7 separate regions of the Homo sapiens genome follow, and all the other regions are linked to region 6. Evidence: promoter capture Hi-C in 16 types of primary human blood cells and fetal thymus (Javierre and others, 2016). All regions are on one chromosome and are shown on one strand. The core of a region is centred on a gene start or on the middle of the fragment in contact, and the rest is flanking DNA. Distances in the headings are between cores, read along the strand shown. Region 1 overlaps LOC105374690 (a long non-coding RNA gene). Region 2 holds the start of MTIF2 (mitochondrial translational initiation factor 2). Region 3 overlaps LOC105374690 (a long non-coding RNA gene). Region 4 overlaps CLHC1 (clathrin heavy chain linker domain containing 1). Region 5 overlaps LINC01813 (long intergenic non-protein coding RNA 1813). Region 6 holds the start of PNPT1 (polyribonucleotide nucleotidyltransferase 1). Region 7 overlaps MIR217HG (MIR217 host gene).

Evidence for each region. The method cuts DNA at HindIII sites, captures the fragments that hold promoters and counts their contacts. A CHiCAGO score of 5 or more calls a contact.
Region 1: a fragment that was not itself captured here is called in contact with the fragment with the promoter of PNPT1 in region 6 in 1 of 17 cell types (endothelial precursors); the score reaches 9.5 in endothelial precursors.
Region 2: a fragment that was not itself captured here is called in contact with the fragment with the promoter of PNPT1 in region 6 in 3 of 17 cell types (activated CD4 T cells, naive CD8 T cells and fetal thymus); the score reaches 6.8 in activated CD4 T cells.
Region 3: a contact is called between a fragment that was not itself captured here and the fragment with the promoter of PNPT1 in region 6, in 1 of 17 cell types (endothelial precursors). The highest score is 8.1, in endothelial precursors.
Region 4: a fragment that was not itself captured here is called in contact with the fragment with the promoter of PNPT1 in region 6 in 1 of 17 cell types (activated CD4 T cells); the score reaches 5.0 in activated CD4 T cells.
Region 5: a contact is called between a fragment that was not itself captured here and the fragment with the promoter of PNPT1 in region 6, in 1 of 17 cell types (endothelial precursors). The highest score is 5.7, in endothelial precursors.
Region 7: a fragment that was not itself captured here is called in contact with the fragment with the promoter of PNPT1 in region 6 in 1 of 17 cell types (endothelial precursors); the score reaches 6.0 in endothelial precursors.

The regions. Positions count from the first base shown.
Region 1 is chr2:56,124,419-56,127,299 of GRCh38, forward strand. The region is part of intron 5 of LOC105374690 (a long non-coding RNA gene); the gene reads left to right. Among named protein-coding and RNA genes, the nearest start is that of LINC01813, 35 kb to the left of the region's middle. The HindIII fragment of the contact is 4,725 bases long and covers 1-2,881 here.
Region 2 is chr2:55,266,750-55,269,970 of GRCh38, forward strand. MTIF2 (mitochondrial translational initiation factor 2) reads right to left here and starts at 2,482. Exons shown (of 16, transcript NM_002453.3): 1 at 2,420-2,482; 2 at 1,829-1,990; 3 at 820-886. RefSeq lists enhancers at 2,425-2,574, 2,520-3,221. The HindIII fragment of the contact is 171 bases long and covers 1,882-2,052 here.
Region 3 is chr2:56,152,934-56,155,827 of GRCh38, forward strand. It overlaps LOC105374690 (a long non-coding RNA gene), which reads left to right. Exons shown (of 9, transcript XR_940109.3): 7 at 2,328-2,408. Among named protein-coding and RNA genes, the nearest start is that of CCDC85A, 30 kb to the right of the region's middle. The HindIII fragment of the contact is 3,113 bases long and covers 44-2,894 here.
Region 4 is chr2:55,225,597-55,228,470 of GRCh38, forward strand. It overlaps CLHC1 (clathrin heavy chain linker domain containing 1), which reads right to left. Exons shown (of 13, transcript NM_152385.4): 2 at 2,436-2,608. Among named protein-coding and RNA genes, the nearest start is that of CLHC1, 5.3 kb to the right of the region's middle. The HindIII fragment of the contact is 770 bases long and covers 973-1,742 here.
Region 5 is chr2:56,074,465-56,077,481 of GRCh38, forward strand. LINC01813 (long intergenic non-protein coding RNA 1813) reads right to left here. Exons shown (of 2, transcript NR_135590.1): 2 at 190-3,017. All of the region lies in intron 3 of LOC105374690 (a long non-coding RNA gene), which reads left to right. Among named protein-coding and RNA genes, the nearest start is that of LINC01813, 14 kb to the right of the region's middle. The HindIII fragment of the contact is 313 bases long and covers 1,563-1,875 here.
Region 6 is chr2:55,692,429-55,695,477 of GRCh38, forward strand. PNPT1 (polyribonucleotide nucleotidyltransferase 1) reads right to left here and starts at 1,416. Exons shown (of 28, transcript NM_033109.5): 1 at 1,235-1,416. The coding sequence starts at 1,395. RefSeq lists a silencer at 606-665 and enhancers at 1,236-1,355, 1,366-1,425, 1,456-1,605. The HindIII fragment of the contact is 6,564 bases long and covers 1-3,049 here.
Region 7 is chr2:56,012,475-56,015,580 of GRCh38, forward strand. It overlaps MIR217HG (MIR217 host gene), which reads right to left. Exons shown (of 3, transcript NR_126406.1): 2 at 1,135-1,237. All of the region lies in intron 3 of LOC105374690 (a long non-coding RNA gene), which reads left to right. Among named protein-coding and RNA genes, the nearest start is that of MIR216B, 13 kb to the left of the region's middle. The HindIII fragment of the contact is 796 bases long and covers 1,056-1,851 here.

The DNA of each region.
Region 1 (2,881 bases), core at 248-2,747, 430 kb after region 6:
GCTTACCTGCTTTTTCTTTTCACTTTCTCCTGCTCCCACCAGCCTGACTTCCTTTCCCTAATTAGGACTCCACCCCTCTGCTGAACTACCATATAACTAATTAATTCTTTAATATAGCTACATAATATCCATAGTATGGATATGCCAAAATTTATCCAACCATTTCCTACCAATAGGTGTTCAGATTAGTTCCATTATTTATTTTTTTGGTTTGCTTTGTTTTACTATTACAAATAATATAGCAACAAACATTTTTGTACATATATCCTTAGCTACTGGTGACTTTATTCCCAGATATAAGATGGCTAGATCAAAGGATATGTACATTTAAAATTTTGACATTACTGAATTTCTTTATTAAAAAGTCTTAATTCACATTGTTCAAGTAATGATTAATAGTGCTTTTTTCTCCATATGCCTGTCAGCACTGAGTATTGTCACTCTGTAAGTGTTTACATTTTACATAGTTCTTTTTTTTTTTTTTTTTTTTTTTTTTTTTTTGAGATAGCGTCTCGCTCTGTCGCCCAGGCTGGAGTGCAGTGGTGCAATCTGAGCTCACTGCAAGCTCCGCCTCCCAGGTTCACACCATTCTCCTGCCTCAGCCTCCCGAGTAGCTGGGACTACAGGCGCCCACCACCATGCCCGGCTAAATTTTTGTATTTTTAGTAGAGACGAGGTTTCACTGTGTTAGCCAGGATGGTCTTGATCTCCTGACCTCGTGATCTGCCCACCTCGGCCTCCCAAAGTGCTGGGATTATAGGCATGAAGCACCACGCCCAGCCCTTTAAATAATTCTTTATAATGGATATGTTTATGATGGGCACAATCAGTTTTCCACTGTTACTTTCATTGGCATTTCCTTCACTGCTAGTAAGGCTGAGCATACCTTCACTGCAATGGCAATTTTGAGTTCTTTTTTTGTGAATTGTCAATTCACAGCCTTTGCTCATTCTTGTATTGGGTTGTCTTTTTAAAGGTAGTTTTGTTAGGACCACTTCTGTATTGTAGATACTTTTTTTTTCTGTAGAGGTTCATTTGATTCAAAAACTTATGTAAACATTAAAAAGGATAGTTGAGAACAAACACAGTATATAGTGAACTATTTGGACTTTATACTGCTTATTAAATCTCTAATATAAGTACATGATAAATGTTATGGACTAAATGTCTTTGTCCCCCGAAAATTCATATGTGGAAACTTAACTTTCAGAAGCCCCAGGGGTTCCAGGGATGTTACCCGAGGGGCCAGCAAATGAGACAGGGCTGAGTTCCCATGTCTGTGTCTGCCCCTCTACTCTTCATAACCTCCAGCTCTCAGCTGTCAATAGAACCACTCACTTTTATCCATTTTATGTATTGGAATTTTACATACAATTTATTTGAGGAAAGTCCTGGTGCTTAAAATCAAATTTGAACACCATTGTTTTAAGGAATGTTGCCTTAGCAGGGATAATTCTGATATGAATATTCCACACATTATATTTTGAGGGAGTTCAATAGCCACGTGTAAGAAACATGATAAGAATAATTCCTGATTCCTACTTTCTTGTTACTAATGCTGGAAATTTCTCAGACCTACTAATCTGGGCAGAGGCATTTTAATCTGTGTAGTGGACTGTTATTATAACCATAGTTATGTTTGTCCAGCATGTCCCTTAATCTTCCTTCTCCTAGTCATACAACCCCTGTTTCAGCAGGGAGCCCATCCCATGTGTTTTAGGGTAGATATATGACCCAAGGCTAACTAATTAGAATACACAGTCCACCTGGGTATAGCAAATGTTTCAGAGAGGATACATGATTAAGTTAGGCCAACCGGAGCCTGCCCTGAGATTTTTATTGGAATTATTGGGAAAATGGATCTGCTTGTTTCACTAGAACCACAAGCTGTAAGGATTAGGTAAACCTAGAGCTGCTGGTGGTTCTCTTTGCCATCACATAGGAAGAGTGTACCTTAAAATGAAGCCGAGACCAGAAAGGCAGAGCTGAGAAATTGAGGGATTTCTGAAGACACCGTTAAGCCCCTGGATCCAGCTATTCCTGGAGTTGGTTTGCCTCTTCAACTTCTCATTTATGCAAATTCCTTTTGCATTTGAGTTGAGTTTCTATCTCTTATAGCTCAGAGCCACAGCCTGCTCTCTGCATGATTCTTGCTGGTGGATGTCCTGAGCCAGGTTGTTGGGGAAAGAGAAAAGAATGAGCCCCTTCATGGGGAAGCAAACAATATTGAGAGGGGCTGCAGAATTGTGTAGAAAGTTGGAAGATATTGAACCCCCAATGAGGGACAGGCAGGGTAGAACATGAAAGAGAGGGGAGGTGAGATCAAAATTGCTGTGTTGCCCATGGTTCCCCTGAGATGTGAATACCTGTACTTTGAATTCCTCACTCCTGGGGATCTAAACCCTTGGGGGCATTTTGCCTCCATTTCCATGCATATCACTGAAGGCCTTTCTAATAGCGTGTTATCAGAAGACCTTGCACGAGTCAGTGTTCTGGACTGTGAGCAACAACTCAGGCAGGGAGTGGAGAAGGGCAGGACCATGAGATGGACTGGAGGAGCAGGAGGGTAAGCTGACAAGAGGGTGCTCTGTCAATGTTACCTGAGGCAGGACTGATTGTAGGAGAGCAATGGAGCTTAGAGGAAACTGCAGATGCAAGCACTGTGATGATATTCTTGGATCCATCAGAGACAATTTCCAGGGGAAGCAAAAGATCCAAGGAAGCAATGTCACAAAAAGGCAGATGTCTCTGCATTGTGATCCATGCCAGGGTCTCAGACCTTGCTGGTTGATTACATCATCCCTGTGATAAAGCAGTCAAGCAAATGTGTAGTCACCAGAATTCAGCATTTAAATGTTATTGCTATTTTTAAGGCTTACAG
Region 2 (3,221 bases), core at 717-3,216, 430 kb before region 6:
GCTACATTTCATTCTTTTTTTTTTTTTTTTTTTTTTCAGATGGAGTCTCGCTCTGTTGCCCAGGGTGGAGTTCAGTGGTGTGATCTCAGCCCACTGCAACCTCTGCCTCCTGGGTTCAAGCAATTTTCTCCAGCCTTAGCCTCCCAAGTAGCTTGAACTACAGGTGTGTGCCACCGTGTCAGGCTAATTTTTGTATTTTTAGTAGACACCGGGTTTTACCATGTTGGCCAGGCTAGTCTCAAACTCCTGACCTCAGGTGATCCACCTGTCTCAGCCTCCCAAAGTGCTGGGATTACAGGCGTGAGCCACCACGCCTAGCCTAAATGTTACATTTCAACCAATCTTCCCAAAGTGTATTTTATGGTTCTGACATAGTAAATGTATGGTTCTGACATGGTAAATAGAATATACTGAATTTTTTTTTTTGAGATGGAGTTTTGCTCATCGCTCAGGCTGGAGTGCAATGGCGTGATCTTGGCTCACTACAACCTCCACCTGCTGGGTTCAGGGGATTCTCCTGCCTCAGCCTCCCAAGTCGCTGGGATTACAGGTGCCTGCCAGCACACCCGGCTAATTATTTTGTATTTTTAGTAGAGACGGGGTTTCACCGTGTTGGCCAGGCTGGTCTTGAACTCCTGACCTCAGGTGATCTATCCGCCTTGGCCTCCCAAAGTGCTGGGATTACAGGCGTGAGCCACCGCGCCTGGCCTATACTGAATATTTTTTAAAAGAAAGAAAAGAAATGATAACAGAAACAAGTACAGTATAGCAAAGAAAGTATCTTATTAGGCAACAAAGGAACCTTAGGTGGACACTCACTCTGACAGTCAGTGTTATCTGGACTCAGCAAGTCACTTGTTTCCTATGGGCCTCATTTTCCGGATCTCTGTTAAAAATAAATAAATAAATAAGTGTTTGAATATCTGTCCTTCCTATTACAAGACTAAGAGGAGAAAATGAGATGATGTATATACTTTATCATCAGCTATTTTAAAACCATATCACATGTCTTGATACTCGCTTATAAGCTTTGAGGATTCATTGCTTATAAGTTAAAAATATTCACAAGTCATTAACTTGTTTACCTTCGGACAATTATGAGGTTGTGTATGTGTGTGTAATCGAGCAAGCATTTTACCTTAAAAGGCTTATTCGAGTAAAGATCAAGGAAAAATCTAACTTAATGCCAACGAAATAAACACATTAAGATTTAGAAATTCAGGCTGGGCGTGATGGCTCATGCCTGTAATCCTAGCACTTTGGGAGGTCGAGGCGGGCGGATCACCTGAGGTCAGGAGTTCGAGACCAGCCTGGCCAACATGGTGAAACCCCCTCTCTACTAAAAGTACAAAAATTAGCCGGGTACGGTGGCGGGCGCCTGTAATCCCAGCGACTTGGGAGGCTGAGGCAGGAGAATCGCTTGAACCCAGGAGGCAGAGACTGCAGTGAGCCGAGATCAGGCCACTGCACTCCAGCCTGGGCGACAGTGAGACTCTGTCTAAAGAAAAAAAAAAGAAGATTTGGAAATTCATTCAATAGTATTTACACACATTAAATACTTCTAAGAATGGCACATGGAAAATATCTTATTTACGTTTGTGCCCCTGGACCAAGAAGTAGAGTGCTCAGGTAACACAGGATTCCTTGAGAAAATAATTTTTAAATCAGTATGAAACCAGATTTGAGAAGAGCACAGATTAATGGAGTGGGAGGAAGGACCCTACGAGATATTAACCAAAGCACAGATATGTAATTGAGGCAGGAACTGGAAAGACACATTGGAGGCAATAACCCAAATGTCAAAACTGGAAGGAAACTTGTCACTTACTCCAAGCTCCTCATTTTACAGAAAAGGAAACGGAAATCCAGAAGGGTCAAAAAAGCTTCTCCAATGTCATACCGCTAGTTAATGGCAGTCAAGACTAGAACCCAGACGTTCTGACTCCCAGTACGGTGTTGTTTCGCCGCTAGGATATCCTTGTCAAGGAATCTGAAAAAAGTATGTTGCAAATACGTAGTTGCGTTAGGGAAAACGTCTGAATGTGAGCTGGAAGCTTTGGAACTTACCAGAAAGGTAAAAATAAATCACTGCAGAAAAATTACGGATCTGGGGTGGCTCGCCTCAAATTGGAGCCCAGAAGGCCTTGGGCCCATGGGAGGCTGGGAAGTGAGGACCTGCACCCACAGCCGCGCGCGAGGAGGGGAAGCCGGCCAGCCGCTTCCGAGAGAACAGTGCACATGCCTTCGTGAATGCCTAACGTGGGCTCACGCAGGGATTAAATGCATCTTGGAAAGGCTTCCGAACGCACAATGTTTATGAAGTTCGCGTGATTTGTGCCACTGACACGTTAGGCGAAACAACACACACCACCTGCACCGGACAACCCTGGTTAAGGGATCCTACCCACTTAACTCCTACCTACAGCCCCGGGCCCCTGGATTCTGAGCACGGGCGGAGATCACCTTCTGGACCCGGAAGAATGGTCGGTAGGTCAGTCCGTCCCCGCTACGGTCCCCGCCGGGCTTCCGGTCCCGCTGGAAAAGGTTCTTTCCGGAATTCAGAGAGTTGCTGTCGCCGCTGGGGGTGGGACTGTCTGCGGTGTCCGCGGCGGGCGTCCAGCCTGGGAGGCGCTGGTTCAACCTGTGGCTCCTCCCAGGGTCAGCCGCGCGTGGTGAATCGTTTCTGCAGGTCCCTTCCATTTCTTACTTTCCTTTCCTTTCTTTCTCTCTTTCCTTTTTTTCTTTCTGTCCCTCTCCTTTCTTTCCTTCCTTCCTTTCTTCATTTCTTCCTTCCTTTCCTCTTCCTTCCTTTCCGTTTTTCTTTCTCTTTTTTTTTTTTTTAAGAAAACTGCCTTTATTCAATTAGAAGTTGGAAAAATTAACTGGTACAGAAAAAAAGTGTAATCAGCTGGAGAAAAAGTGCCACCCATGAGAACTGATGGCTCCTCTGGGAGGGAATCTGGATACAGTGAGGATTTCTAGGAAGCAAATTACTTCTTCTCTGGGGCTATGAGAGGCCTCGGTGGTGCTTAACACTGTAGGAAACGTTAAATGGAGAATTGTGGGAGAAATGATACCTCCTTCAAAGATACGTGTTCCTAACAAGAAGGAAAAAACAAATGCAAGCGAACAGTGGCGGTAGAACCAGTTAGTATTGTGCGAACAGTACTTTCTGTTTTCTCCTAAGTCAGCTCGTGTGTATGGCATTAGGAGTAATAGAG
Region 3 (2,894 bases), core at 350-2,849, 460 kb after region 6:
TGGGTATAGCCTTGTAAATTCAAAGATACCTTATCTATAGTTAAGCTTTGAATATGGAACAAATGACGGAAGAATGAGTTTTTAAATGAAAAGATCAAAAAGGATAATTAATATTTCATAATCTTAATTAACTTTTCCACTGCACACTGATTTTGTATGTTATTTGGGGTGTAAGATGTGATTCGTGCTTTCATAACCAAATCAGATAATCTGGTCACAGAGTTGAATGTTAAAGGTAATGTGAACATCTTGTTTGGCTTGAGAAAAGAGTCATCAAGTTCCTCAATTAGCTCTGTGCTTATTCTAGGGAAGTTGCTACACAAGTGAATAAGATTGTAAGCATTTAGAGTAAGAGGCAAGTTATTAAGCATGCTGGGTTGGTTTCTACTGGTGAGAGATGGGTGAGTTGCTGGATTTTTGAGAAAGGAGGAACCCCACACTAGGGAACATGGGTTAAATCAAGTTGTCCAGTATATTTACAAACATGATAGGATTTAACAGATCTCTTAGAGCAGTAGAGTTGGCTGGTGCTTTCATGTTGGTAGACACCTGGCTCTTGAAACCAGCCAGAGTTATGTCTGCATACCTACCTACTGGCCCCGGAGAGGTGAATGGTGCATATCAACCAGGGATAGATGAAATTGGCCAGGACCTTTGATCATGATTTACTTTCCCTTTGGCCTCATCTTTCCATCTTGAAGCCCTTGGCTCCAAGACTTTGACTAGGACCCTACTTCTGACTCTGGTTCTACTTCTGACCCTGGTTCTACTTCTGACCAGCCCCTTCAGAACTAGCACACTTACTCCTGATATCTAGGATGTCAACTCTTTCCCTTCTTTCACCTCCCTTGCTCCAGTGATTCTTCCTGCTCAGGATGAGAATTCCCAACTTTATTCTGTTGACTTGGTTAATCTCCAGCTGGCTCAATCTCTGACTTCCTTGAGGTTGAGGTAGCATTTGGGGGAGAAAAGGGAAGGAGAGATTCAGATAATTAACCCCTGGGAGGTGACTAGAACTTCAAGTTCTGTGCTTGCTCCAGAGCATGCTGGTCCCATAAAGGCAAAATGAGAGCCAATATAGGACCTTGGAGAGGTGGTCAAGAGCAAGAGACCCAGTCCTAATTTATAGGCAGAGATTGAATTTTGTATAAATTAGGATATGCTAGATTTTGCTATATTAACACACAGCCCCCAAATCAGTGTTATAACAAAATGAAAGTTTACTTCTTATACATACAAAGTATCCAATGTGGTATGGGGTGACAACCTGCTCCAGTGTCCCTCAGGGACCCATACTAACCAAGGCTACCATTTTAGTATTTGTATCATGTAGGTCATGTGCACTTAACACTCCACAACAGGAGAAATAAGATTGGAGAATCCAGCATGGGTTTTTCATTGCCTTGGTGCAAAGGTGATACACTTCTGGCCACATTTTACTGCCTAGAACTAGTCAGATGATCCTGTAACTTTAAGGGGTTTAAATGTAGGAGAGGAAGTACAATATTTGGGGGTAATTACTGCCCCTACAACAAAATCTGTGGGTAAGGATTCCACCTGAAAGAGAGGAACAGGGATGCTGACATACAGGCCAAGAGTTTGGGGAAGCAAGTCCAGGGGAACCCATCCCAAAGAGAGGTGGAGGAAGGAATCAGGAGAGCCCGGGTCTCGCGCAAAGGAGCTCCAGGGAGCCCACAGCTAGCTGAGTTCTCATTCCCAACCACTAGAATGGCCTGGAGCAGGGACTGACATGCTGAATCTGAAAGCCACCTTCAAGGATCATTGTTTCACATTATTATGAAGGGAGTTTAATGATAACAAATGCTTAAATATATAGAGAATGCATTTAAAAACCATATGATTCATGCGTAATGTTTTGAATTAGTCAGTCACCATCCCAGGAGGAAATGTGCCATGTTCTGTTTTCATCACCTTATTGGGAGAGTTACCTACACTTCTGAATCATATACTTTGTGTATAAAATGGAGCTAATCTTTGATAAATTGTGGCTGTTTATTACATTAAGTAGTTATATTCATGACATCATGTAATCTTCTCTATAAACCTAGAAGATTATTATTATTACTAGCAACCCCACTTTGCAAATGAGACTGCTGACTTCCAGAGAGGACAAGGTTGCATAGCTAGTAAGAGGCTGAGCTGGGATTTAAGACATAGGTCTCAGATGAATCCAATATCTCATATTTGATTGCTAGAACTAAATAGAATATATAACATATCTGGTATTTCCTAGGAGCTCAATAATGTTGATTCTTCTTCCTCTTCTTTTCTCTTTTTCTTTCTTTCTCTCATCTCTGGAACTCCAGCCAAATAACTCATCACCTGTTGGGGATTCCTTCAGGGATTTGAGAAGTGCTAGTAAACCACTCACACAATGATTTCTCCAGGTGAGCATGGGAGTGAGAGTTGGTGATGGAGAGACTGGACACGTGCTCTTACCAGTCTTGCTTCTGGCTCTGTGCCCACGTGGAGGCTGGCAGAGGCAGGGGAAAGAGGGGACCAAAAGGAGTCACATGCCTACTTACCTCCCCCAAAATAAGAAGAGGGCTAGCTTTCACCCACCTTTTTCCCCTTTTGCAATATTTCTGTCCTTAGTGCTGTTGCAGGTGTTTGTTAATATTTGGATAAAGTGAGTAACTTGGTCATACAAATGTTACTTTTTCTTCAGCAGGGAAAGCTCTACCAATTTCCAGCTCTTCTAAAAAACGAAGTCATTTTAATCCCCATTCTTAAAAATATGTGGGTTTTCACACAAAATAAACTCCTTCATCGGCCTGATTCTGTGTTTCTCCTATTCTGGAAACAAGGTGTCGTAGGGCAGTGGGGTTGAAGGTAAAGGGTATGGGAGGGAGGGTGTGATTGTTCATCTTGAA
Region 4 (2,874 bases), core at 108-2,607, 470 kb before region 6:
ATGCTGTGGGCTTCCTGCCCTCACCCCGCACCTCATGACCGTCACGCTGCCTGCCTGCTTGCCCCCTGCCACCTCGAATTCAGTCCTGGATGCCTTCGAAGCCCAGCCCCACTGCGTGCCAGGGGGTTCCTGCAGCATCCCCTCCTCCAGGCTCCCCATCTCCCTGAAGCTTCCAGGTAGCAGTTGGTGGGGCACTGATCTGTGAGCTCTGGAATGTCTGCTTAGATTTCTGAGAGGCAGGAACTGCTGTCTTTGTAAGTACTCAAGGCCAACTGTCACGTGATGAAGGAATGAATAAAGAATTTTTACTGAAAGGCCGGGAGCGGTAGCTCACGCCTGTAGTCCCAGCATTTTGGGAGGCCGAGGCGGGCGGTTCACGAGGTCAGGAGATCGAGACCATCTGGCTAACATGGTAAAACCCCGTCTCTACTAAAAGTACAAAAAAATTAGCCGGGTGTGGTGGCGGGCGCCTGTAGTCCCAGCTACTCAGGAGGCTGAGGCAGGAGAGTGGCGTGAACCCGGGAGGCGGAGGTTGCAGTGAGCCAAGATCGCACCACTGCACTCCAGCCTGGGCAACTGAGCGAGACTCCATTTCAAAAAAAAAAAAAGAGAAAGAGTTTTTACTGAAAAAAAAAAAATTGTCCAACTGAAGTTGGATACAGAAGTTGGTGCCTAAGATTTAGTCACATTAACTTCAAACAGAACTCTTGGCTTGCTTAATAATGGCTGGCAAGGCAACATCGTAACTTTTTCCCTAATTACAGAAGCATACTCCTGGTATAAAATTCGGAAAATATAAACCAGACAAAATTAATGAAATAAATATCTATTTAATATTTTGGAATATTTCCTTCCAAACATTACAAAACTTGAAATTAAACTCTATATTCAGTTGTGCATCCCATTTTTTTCACTTAATATTAAAAGCACTTTTTCATGTTGTTAAATCGTTTTTTAAAACATGACTTCTAAAGCTTACACAGTATTTCATAGTATGATGTTCCATTAATTTATTCCCCCATTGTCAGATATTTTCACTATTTTTGTTTTGTTTTGAGACAGTCTTGCTCTGTCGCCCAGGCTGGAGTGCAGTGGCACGATCTCAGCTCACTGCAACCTTCACTTTCTGAATTCAAGTGATTCTCCTGCCTTAGCCTCCCGAGTAGCTGAAACTAGAGGTGCAGGGCACCATGTCTGGGTAATTTTTTGTAATTTTAGTAGAGATGGGGTTTCACCCTGTTGGCCAGGCTGATCTTGAACTCCTGGCCTCAAGTGATCAGCCTGCTTTGGCCTCCCAAAGTGCTGGGATTACAGGCATGAGCCACTGCACCTGGCTGCTATTTTCACTAATATAAACAATGCCATGATAAGTAAGTGTCTCAATCAATTGTATCATGTTCTGGCAATATAACTGATACCTGATTATGTGAATAACATATACAGCCTGTAAATACTGCCCATAGCCATATACAGAAGAGGAGACACCAAAATAATTCTGAAGATTAAAAGGCCAAAATTATCTTCATGTTGATGAACTGGATAGCAAAAAGTCAATTTATGAATTAATATAAAGTAGTTCCAGCAAGGGAATAACTCATTAATTAATCAAGTTTTCCTAAATGAGAAATACATTTGTTTATTCATTCATTCAGTCAGTATTTATTGAGTGTCAACAAAGCACCAGGCACCATTTCACAGCTAGGAATTCGGCAATAAGTAAGATAAGGTCCCTGGCTCCTTGAAGCTTATGATCTAGTAGGGGAGACAAACTATAAATAAATAATTTCAAATAGTAAAAGATAACCAGGCGCGGTGGCTCACGCCTATAATCCCAGCACTTTGGGAGGCCGAGGCAGGCAGATCACGAGATCAGGAGTTCAAGACCAGTCTGACCAACATGGTGAAACCACATCTCTACTAAAAATACAAAAATTAGCTGGGAGTGGTGGCACACGCCTATAATCCCAGCTACTCAGGAGGCTGAGGCAGGAGAATCACTTGAACCCAGGAGGTGGAGGTTGCAGTGAGCCGAGATTGAGCCACTGCACTCCAGCCTGGGCAATAGAGCAAGACTCCATCTCAAAAAAAAAAAAAAAGTAAAAGATAAAAGTCAAAAGAGGAAGAAACGGGTGTTATCATTAGAGAGGGGGTAGTGACATTTGGACACCAGTGGCTTCCTACCGTATTACCCTTAGGATAAAATCCAAGTTCCTTTACTTGGCCTATTAGTGCCCTTCAGAAACTAATGACTCTTTTTCTTTGACCAAATTTACTCTCTTCATGTCCCTGTCCTTTGCCCCATATCCCCATTCCCACACCCATGAACTTCCTCTCTTACCTTAGGATCTTACATAATTCTCTCCCCCTCCCTGCAGACCATCCTCCTATATTACCCCCAACCCCCAAAACACATACATACTATCACTTTGATTCACCTGGCTTTTACTCTTTCTTCAGCTTCAGGAAAGCTGTCCTGGATTCCCTTAAAATTGGTCAGATGCCACTGCTATGTTCTCCCATAATACTGTGCACTTCCTCCATCATGGTATTATCCTTCCACCACACTGCCTTAGAGACTTCCTGTTTATATTCTGTCTCATCTGTTAGGCTGTAAGCGTGACAAGATCAGGAAACAAAATGTTCTCTTTCCCCATCATCCCTCCTCTACCATATGCATTCAAGTGCATAATGCAGTTTCTAGCAGAGCAGTACTCAAACATATGTTTGCTGAATAATCAATAATCACTGAACAATAATCTAGTCTATTCATAAGACATTGGACTTGTGGTGCTCTCAAACCAGAACACAGCTAAAGGGATTGTTCCTTAACATCTACAAAATGCCATTGAGTTACATAAACCAACCAAGATTACC
Region 5 (3,017 bases), core at 469-2,968, 380 kb after region 6:
CATCAGACTCCTTCTTAACATAGTGGTCCAAACAACCAGCTCTATTAGTGAAGCTCTAATATCAGCTTAATACCAGTTGGTATTGCCTGATAAGATGTAACCTATTTGCAGATTAATTCTAGCAAGCGATATAAATCCCAAGGTTAGAGGTAAAATAGTATAGCTTATATTATAGAAGTGGCTAGTATAGATTTAAGGCATTGTTTTAATTTTTTTTACTGCACCCCTTAATAATTAATACATTTTACATTTTCACATTTAGCTATATAAAGAAGAGTACAACTGGATAAAAGTTTGATGTGTTTTAGGGAATATATACTTTATGTTAATTCTGTAATGTTGGAATCAAAATAGGTTACCTTTAAAATAATTCTAATTTTTCAGAAATAAAACACTCTTATATTTACTCTTCTTAGTGATTGGTGTAATTAGATGGAATGATTTTTGTCCCAATCTCTTTGTGGTTTATATGAGGAAAAAAATCCATATTTTTATTTTCCTGAACTTAAGTACCCCATCAAGGCTTAGAATAAACCTCAGTAGAAATTTGCCAATATGTAGAAAAAAGTTTGTGGCATCATCAATTTTCAGGCCAGGCAATATTCATTAAGTTTGTAGTAGATTTTTAGGTTCGAGGATGATCATCTCCCTTATGCCTAATCATTATTTACTTAAGAAAACAACTGTGGGCTGGACTCTAATATTTGCAAGCTGTGTGACCTTACCCAAGGTACTTGAACTTCCTAGTTTGAAACCCTATGACAGCTTTGTATTACTTCAAAATTTATGCTCTTTTTTTTCTTACTATGGCAAACTTCAGCATCTTTTTCCTTTAAGCAGTTTTGATCATTTCAGCTGCAGTTTTCATTTTATTCATCTGTCAGTATTATGTGCTAAAGCAAGTAAGGTGACATGGTATGAAAACATGTTAAAGCAAGCAAAGTGAAGTGATCCTGGGGATATGTTGAACCAAGTAAGGTCAAGTGAAGCTAGGGGTGTGCTTGGAGGCTGGACGAAGACAGAGAGTGAAGGAAAAAATGGCAGCTTCATATCTCTGGAAGTGGAATGCATAGCATTATATTTTATCCTGTGGTTCTTCAGCATTTGGCTTTGCTATATAATTAGGCAGAGGGGATATTTATGGGATTTAATAACTGTTGTTTCCATCCTTGTCATTAGGATCCAGAAGTTTCTTAGATTATGAGTGCTCCAGAAGTGAAATTAATACCCTCTGCTAGAGCTGAAAGTTGAAAGTTCCTATTGTCAAGATTTCAGTTCTGTCAGCTTTTTCTTTTTTGATCATTAAAAGTGAGGCATTCTCGGACTTGAACAGCACACCTCATGAAGGAGATCTATGAGGGATTTATGATGCTTGGTTGTAAGAGAAGATGACATCCACAGAAAACTGGTAATCTTGGAAGGACAGGCAAGTAGGTAGTTGGAAATAGTTCAGAAACGTTTGCTTCTACAGTTCTGAAGGCAATATATGTCAGACTTGGAGAGCTCTAGAGAGGGGCCACTCACCTTAGAGTTGAAGACCATGGAAATTTAACCTGCTGTCAAGCTTTGATCATTACATACAGTCACTGCCTCATCGGTTGAGGATTAGAAAATCAAAAAGGTTCAAAACTTGGGATGTTATAATGTCAGCATGCTAATCAGAATTTCAGAAGTACATGCTCATGGAAATAAAATTTCAATAAAAAATAAGGGTGCCAGATGAAAAGTGTGTCTAGTTCCACTATCCATAGCCTGGTTCTCAAGAGGCTGCCACCCATGATGTTTTCTGTCTTTAGCTCTTCCAGGGATTATCACTATAACTCGAAGTATCTGTTTCATACAACATTAATATCTATTTCTTATCTTACCAACTTAAGCTTGTCTTTTAACTCTTTGCTGTAAAAGATTACTATTTCAGCTCATAGCAACTACTCTGCTTCGTTTTTCCCTGTATCTGCTCCCATTTTTTCTTTTTGTTCTTCTATTGTTTATACTTTAAATAATATTTTTGACTTTTATTTCTTGTTCTGTCAACTTCAGACATATCATGGTGTATGATATGGAGTCGGTCACTCCTACACGCTCTCCCATCTCTCCTTCCCACCTCTAACTCCTACTGTTCATCATTTCTACCACTACTTTTATATTGCCAAGGTTTAAAACATTTACATTCTGAATGGAAATTTTAATTAAGTATTCATCGCTTTGTCTATACATTGATTCAGAGAAGCAAAAATAGATAAACATCATTTATAATATTATGATATTGTTCAATATTATTCACTGCAGAACCAGAGTGCAGCTGTAGAGGAGATATAATTTATATTCTTAAATCAGATCTACTTAAAGTAGAATATTTCAAGTTCTAAGTCAAGATTTTCTTTTCTTAGACTCCATAAATTTCCTATAATAATGCTTCATATTTTCGTCATGAATTTTTGTACAGCATTTTCCTTTTCCTGGAATTTCTAGTTTCCCTTAATTTTTCTTATTGAAGTCGGAAACATAAACGTTCTTCATTATGCACCACCCAAAAGCCAGCCAACAGATTCTTTAGCCAGATGCATTATTAGTGTCTGCTCTCTTTCAGGTTCCCAATGCCAGGGGTCTCTTCATAGAGTAACAGATTCCACCTTCACTGCAGCTTCTCTTGCGGCTTCTCTTGTACTCTGAATAGTTATTTTTCTCTGTTCTATTTTATCTGTTAGTGTAATCCCATATGCCATGCATTTTTAAGAGAATTTCCTAATTATTTCACCTATTCATATCCTATCCTTTTGCATATCTTTACTATCATTTCAATGGGTTTAAGAGAGGGAAGTACAAATATTTGCTAGGTTCAATATGTTTAATCAGAGCCCTCAGAATTATTGGTTTACTATAGTCAGAAATTGGTATCCAAGAGGAAAACGTGCATCTAAAATTTACAGACTATGCCCCAGATCTTAACTTAGAGAGGAAGCATTTATGCTTATTGCATGAAAGTCCTGTTTTAAATTTGGAGTATCTTTTTCACG
Region 6 (3,049 bases), core at 166-2,665:
AATTTTTTCAAAGTACACGTAAAAAATTTAGATATATGAAGTTTGCATTAGCAATTCCATTTATTCTAAGAACGATTAAAGCAAACTTTTTTTTTAAAAAGCGGTCCCCTAAAAAAAAGTATGGGCTTTGTAAGCAAAAAACAGAAATTCAAAAACCACCTAGTCCCATAATACTAACTTTTTTATAGACTCTTAGAAAGTTATCTAACCTTTTTTGAGCCTCTGTAGTCTTAACTATAAAATGAGGGTAATAGTACCTTTACGACAGGTTTAAAAAGATTGCGAGGATCATATAACTGGCGTTCAAAAAACTGACTTTTCCTTTTCCTCCTAACCCAGGGTCATAGTGGTCACACTTTAGGCAATCAATTAGATTGGATGACATGATATCTTGTACTCCTAACTTCAAGTCATCCTTCCGTCTTAGCCTCCCAAAGTGCTGGGATTACAGGTGTGAGCGCCTGACCTTTTGCCATCTCTTTGCATCGATCTTTGCTTTTGTTTCTCTCTGTGTGTCTCCTTGCCTCTCTCCCTGTCACTGTCTCTCTCTCTCCCCTGCCTCCCTCTTGGTCTCTTTTTTTTGCTGTCTCTTTCTGATGACCTTGTTCCCATCTCTGTGCGTGTGTGGCTCTCTCCCTGTCCATCTCTTACCATCTCTGCCTTCCTCTCCCAGGTCTTAAACGAATATTTCCACAATGTCTGTGAACTGGACCTGGTGTTCAACTTCTACAAGGTAGGCTCCTGGTGAAGAGGAGGCTGAAGGAGCCCGAGGAGTGGGACGTGGGGGACCCGTGGTGCACTAGCCACCCGGAGCCTCTGCTGAGGTCTGTGTCCCAGCTCGAGGGGCATCAGAGCCCCAGCTTCCAGGGTCCGGGCCAGCATCCCGGGGGGCCTCGTCTCACCCACGTCAACTCGTTATTCCTAGGTGGAATGTTTCCCACTTAAGAGCCCAGTGGTCCCGGAAAGTAAAGAGATCGGAAGTCAGGTGGACGGACAGAGTCGGATGGAGCAAAGAAGCCCGGCACACACCAACAGAGAGAACGACATAGCGCGGGAAGGAGGGTCCGAGGAGACACATTCCAAACCCGGAAAGGGAAATTTGGAATTTAGGTTTAGGGTAAGGAGAGATTAAATAGAGCTGGGATACCGGGTTTCTACCCTGGGAGATGAATACGCTCAAGCTGGCTGGACAAGACACCTTATGACAATACAGTGAACGCACGTCACTCCTTACCTGTTGCCTAAGTCCACGGCCACAGCTCGAGACCCTGCGCTACTCCATAGTGCTCGCACTTGCAACTGGGTGAGTGCCCGATCCCGCCGTGGCAGAAGGAAAGGACCATCGCTCAGGGGCCGGAGCCGGAGGCACGAGCAGCAGTACCTGCAGGCCGCCATGACACCCGGCACGCGGTCAACGCAGGCTGTGCCCTGATTGGCTCACTCCGCAGACCGTGGGGCGGAGCCTGATGGAGTTTCGTTTCCGCGGTGCCCGAGGGACGCCGGGGTAACGGAAACCTTGGCCACCTTCTACGAAGACTAGAGAGGGTCAAACCTATCAGAACGCGATTATGTTGCAAACGATCTTTGTCTTTATGTGCCAACGAAAGGCAATTAGATAAATAAGGTTTTTGTGTGTGTACTATCGTAATTTAAAGGAGAAGTCCTAGAATAATGTAAATGTTTAATATGCAGAGTAAATTTATATTTACTTTTAATACTAGAAGTCATAGAACAACACATTATTATTATTTGGATCTGTGAACTAAGAATTAGAATTTGGGTGGTGGGCCTTGGAAAGAGATCTCCTTCTCCCCTTCTCCGCCCTGGTTTTTATTTTAAAAATTTCACATAGCAGATATGTTACTACAGCGATTTGTGTTAACCAATTTACAGTAAATTCATTTTTCATCGACTTGTAATTTTAGAAATCTTTATTGTCACTTCTGATTCATTTTCATTTCCATTGCTAATAATTAGCAATTTATATTTCTGTCCCTTTTGGTCGAACTCTTAAATGCAAAATGCCAGCTACTGTTTGAAGTAAATATTTTGTAAAATGAAAAAAAAAAGTTTTTGGGATTTGAAAAATTTTTAGAGAATGGATAAATTTCTTCCACCCCATTAATCCATTCTGTTAGAAATTCTTTATGTTTTTCCTTGAATGAACCAATGGGCATTTTCATATTATGATGTAAATTTTTTGTGTAAGGTGATAACCGCCTTACCCCAAAGAAAACCAAACAACAAAAACCCAACACTCATTCAAACACAGTTTTAAGAATTAAAAACGTTGGCTGGACGCTGTGGCTCACGCCTGTAATCCCAGCACTTTGGGAGGCCGAGGCGGGCGGATCACCTGAGTTCGAGACCAGCCTGACCAACACAGAGAAACCCCGTCTCTACTAAAAATACAAAACTAGCCGGGCATGGTGGCTTATGCCTGTAATCCCAGCTACTCGGGAGGCTGAGGCAGGGGAATCGCTTGAACCCGGGAGGCGGAGGTTGCAGTGAGCCGAGATCGCGTCATTGCAACAAGAGTGAAACTCGGTCTCAAAAAAAAAAAAAAAAAAAAAAAAAAAAAAAGTCCGGGCGCAGTGGCTCATGCCTGTAATCCCAGCACGCTGGGAGGCAGAGGCGGGTGGATCACGAGGTCAAGAGACCCAGGGCATCCTGGCCAACATGCTGAAACCGCGTCTCTACTAAAAATACAAAAATTAGCTCGGTGTGGTGGCGCGTGCCTGTAATCCCAGCTACTCCAGAGGCTGAGGCATGAGAATCGCTTGAATCCAGGAGGCGGAGGTTGCAGTGAGCCGAGATCGCGCCACTGCACTCCAGACCGAGACTCCATCTAAAAAAAAAAAAAAAAAAAAAAAAAATTAAAAATGTTGATCCGTGATGATTTAAAAAAGAAAAAAGAATGATGAGCTCTAAACAGACAAATGATTTGCTGGCAAAGCAGTTTTCTGACACCTTGCTTTCATGAGCTATTATTACTGATTTGGGATTTCCATTCCAATAGAGGGATTACCATTAACTTTGTTTACAGATT
Region 7 (3,106 bases), core at 204-2,703, 320 kb after region 6:
CTATAGACACATGAAGAAACCCCTCAGAGACTCTTCAAAAAATGCAAACACATAAAAAGCAAATTTGATTCAGCAAGTTTACCATTAACAAAACCTCCTTTGGGGGCAGGGATGGTGTAGTGATAGTATAGGCTGTTAGAAAGAAGCTTAGAAACTGCCCTATTGAACAAAGCAAGCTAAAGGCAGAGAGATAAAATGGGAGAAGAAAACTGCTTTTTAGTTTAGAATTTTTTTTGAAATTTCTGTTTAATTATCATTATTATCTACAGAGATGATTAAAAGCATCAAACATTTCCAGGATAAAACCCAAGCACAAATGGAAAAGGATTTATGCTAAATTGGCATTTGATAATTTCTTACAATAATCTGACGTAAAAGTTGTCTCCCTTTTATTTCAATTCAAGAATTCCTTTCATCTTTTACTCAATAGTCATTATCCTTTTTATTTCAATTCAATAACATTTACTGAATATCTAATATGTAGTATAGGCCCTGTGTCTCAGAAAAAACACTGGGTTAGGGTTTTTAAAATAAGTTTTAAAAGAAAGTAAATATTTTAAAGCCTAAATTTTTTTTAAGTTTAATGTTCAAAATACTGAACTGTACTAAAAATCACAATAAATCGCCATTCTTCCAAATAACGTTCCCTTTATGATTATGGGATTTATATAAACTAAATATTTGCAGAAGAAATTTCTTCAACTATATTGTAGGGAGAATGTCATCTTTTCAGATATGCTGGTTGGGAATAATCACTACACTAGTGGAAATGTTTGCACAAGCCAGCATTGAAAAGAGACGAGATTTCCCTTTATCAGCTTCTCAAAAATGACAACTAAAATTCTTAGTTTTGGGACAGGACAAAGGTCTAAGTCTGTCATTTTTTAAATGCCACATTTTTGAAATAACAATCAGGTGTTTCACTTTAAGTGTATTAAATTTAAGTGTATTAATATTTAATATAAATATTGAAATATAATTAGTTTATTCAGAAGCAAAACCCCAATCCTAATTTCAGCATATCTTAATAGAAAGCCTGGGTTTATGAATCCACAAGCTTTTTATTAAAATCCCAAGAGGTCAATAACAATCTTGTAATCACAAAATATGCATACAGGAGAACATCAGACTTACCAAGAAATATAGCTGTAACAGTGCATGACAAAAGGCACATTTTGGAGACATGATTCAATTTCCTGTTTTTCAGCATCAGGTACTTTATCTGACCATCTGAAGGCTTTAGAAATAGGTAAAAAAAAATGGGAGAGTTTTTAATATTAAGAGCTATGAAAGGTGAAAAACAGGCCCTGACAAACACATCTAAACAGATCCATGTATTTCATAACAGAAACAGTTCCATTTTCATTCTCAATATTTCTAGTTGAATAATTATCCACTATCCCAAGGATTCTTAATAAAAAAAATTTTACCCTTTTGAGAGGAAGACAGCAATGAGTTCATTTTGAAAGGTTCACATTTAGCTTTTAGCCAAAAGTGAACCTTTGGTGTCTTTTGAATCCTTTTTAAGTCTTGAAGCCTTAGAGAGAAACCAAAGAGAAAGAGATCAGATCGCGGCCTACCTCTTTCAGCCCTTGAGAATTCCCTTTCCAAGTAGTTTCTTAAATAGTGAGGCTGCATCAGAACCCCTAGTTCTTCTCCTTAGAAGTTATTAAATCAGCAGAAAGGCCGACAATAATGGCAAATGAAATCTAAGTTTTGTATAGGAAACAGACAGGCAGTCTACACTTTGTTATTCACTTGATAGACAGAGCCATTTTGACAGCCCTAACCTTGGAAACCACAGGTCCTGCTGAGCTCAGCAGGAGTCAAACGCTGAGTACCATCTGTCAAAGCTTTATTTTCCCCCCTCCTCATCCACGCCTTTACTATAAGATGCTAACAAGAGCCCTGAATGAAAGTAGCTAACTACAGTTAAACTCGTGTGCATTGTAACACTAATGTTGGGGTAAGAAACTCACTCCCAGAATCTACCAAATTTGAGTGAACAGAATTGCGTATTCTATGTCTTTTCTTAATGGTTATCAACGTTGAAAAAGTGTGGGTTGAGAAACTCCGTAACCACACTCCAAACAACTAATCCTCCAAAATAAGGAAATTGCACATCATCTTGTATGTTTTTGCCAATTCTGTAGCTAAAATAAATGGTTTGGAAAGTTCTCAACTCTAAGGCCTTTTTTTTTCTTAATGTAGTTTAATTAAACATGTGCAAGAACAACAAATTAATTTCTTTCTAAAAAATAGAGATTTTGATGAGTTGAACTTGTGCTTTATAAAATAAATCTCATTCAGAACAAACACTCTTTCCCTTTCTCCCTGGCATAAGCAATTCTAAAACATTAACAGGCCTGATAATAATAAAATCAATTAAATCAAGTGTGGTATAGCTCATGCGGCACTTGTGTAGAAGACAGTATATCAATTGAAACATGAAGGAGCTCACAAAGGCATTCCTTTCCACTACCAAAATGCTACATATTTTTTAAAGTACAAATTCATTTTGTTTGCATTTAAAAGTTATATATATTTAATGAAAAAATTTAGATACAATTTAAAAATCATTAATTTGGAATACCATTTTTAGCACACAGTTCCTTAAAAAATGTAGAGAACATTTCCATAAACACAAATTAAAAAAAGTAGCTTAGAATTAAAATGCTGAAAAAAGCTGAGATCTTTTTAGCAGAATTATTCCTAATTTTAATGTTTAGTTATTCTACTTGAAATAGTAATGTTTCTTTTTCCCAATTCTCCAAAATGCTGAAAATAGTTATAAAATATTGCTTCATGAGAATAATACTATATGTATGTACTAGATATACTGTATTATAGCAAGTAATGGTTTATCGTTTAGTAGTTAATTACATTGTCAAGAAGACACTGTGAAGAAGTATTATTAAATTAATTATTCATACGAGTGTGTACTTTTTTTTTACATTTTGCTGAATGTTCCATGTGTGCAGATTTTGCAGGGATTTGAGAGACCTTGTGTATAAACACCTGAAATGCTTTATGTGAAATAGTTTTTATAAATCGCACGTCCAGAAGGTGATTTTGCTATTTAAAGTGACCAGGTGCTGATTTATTT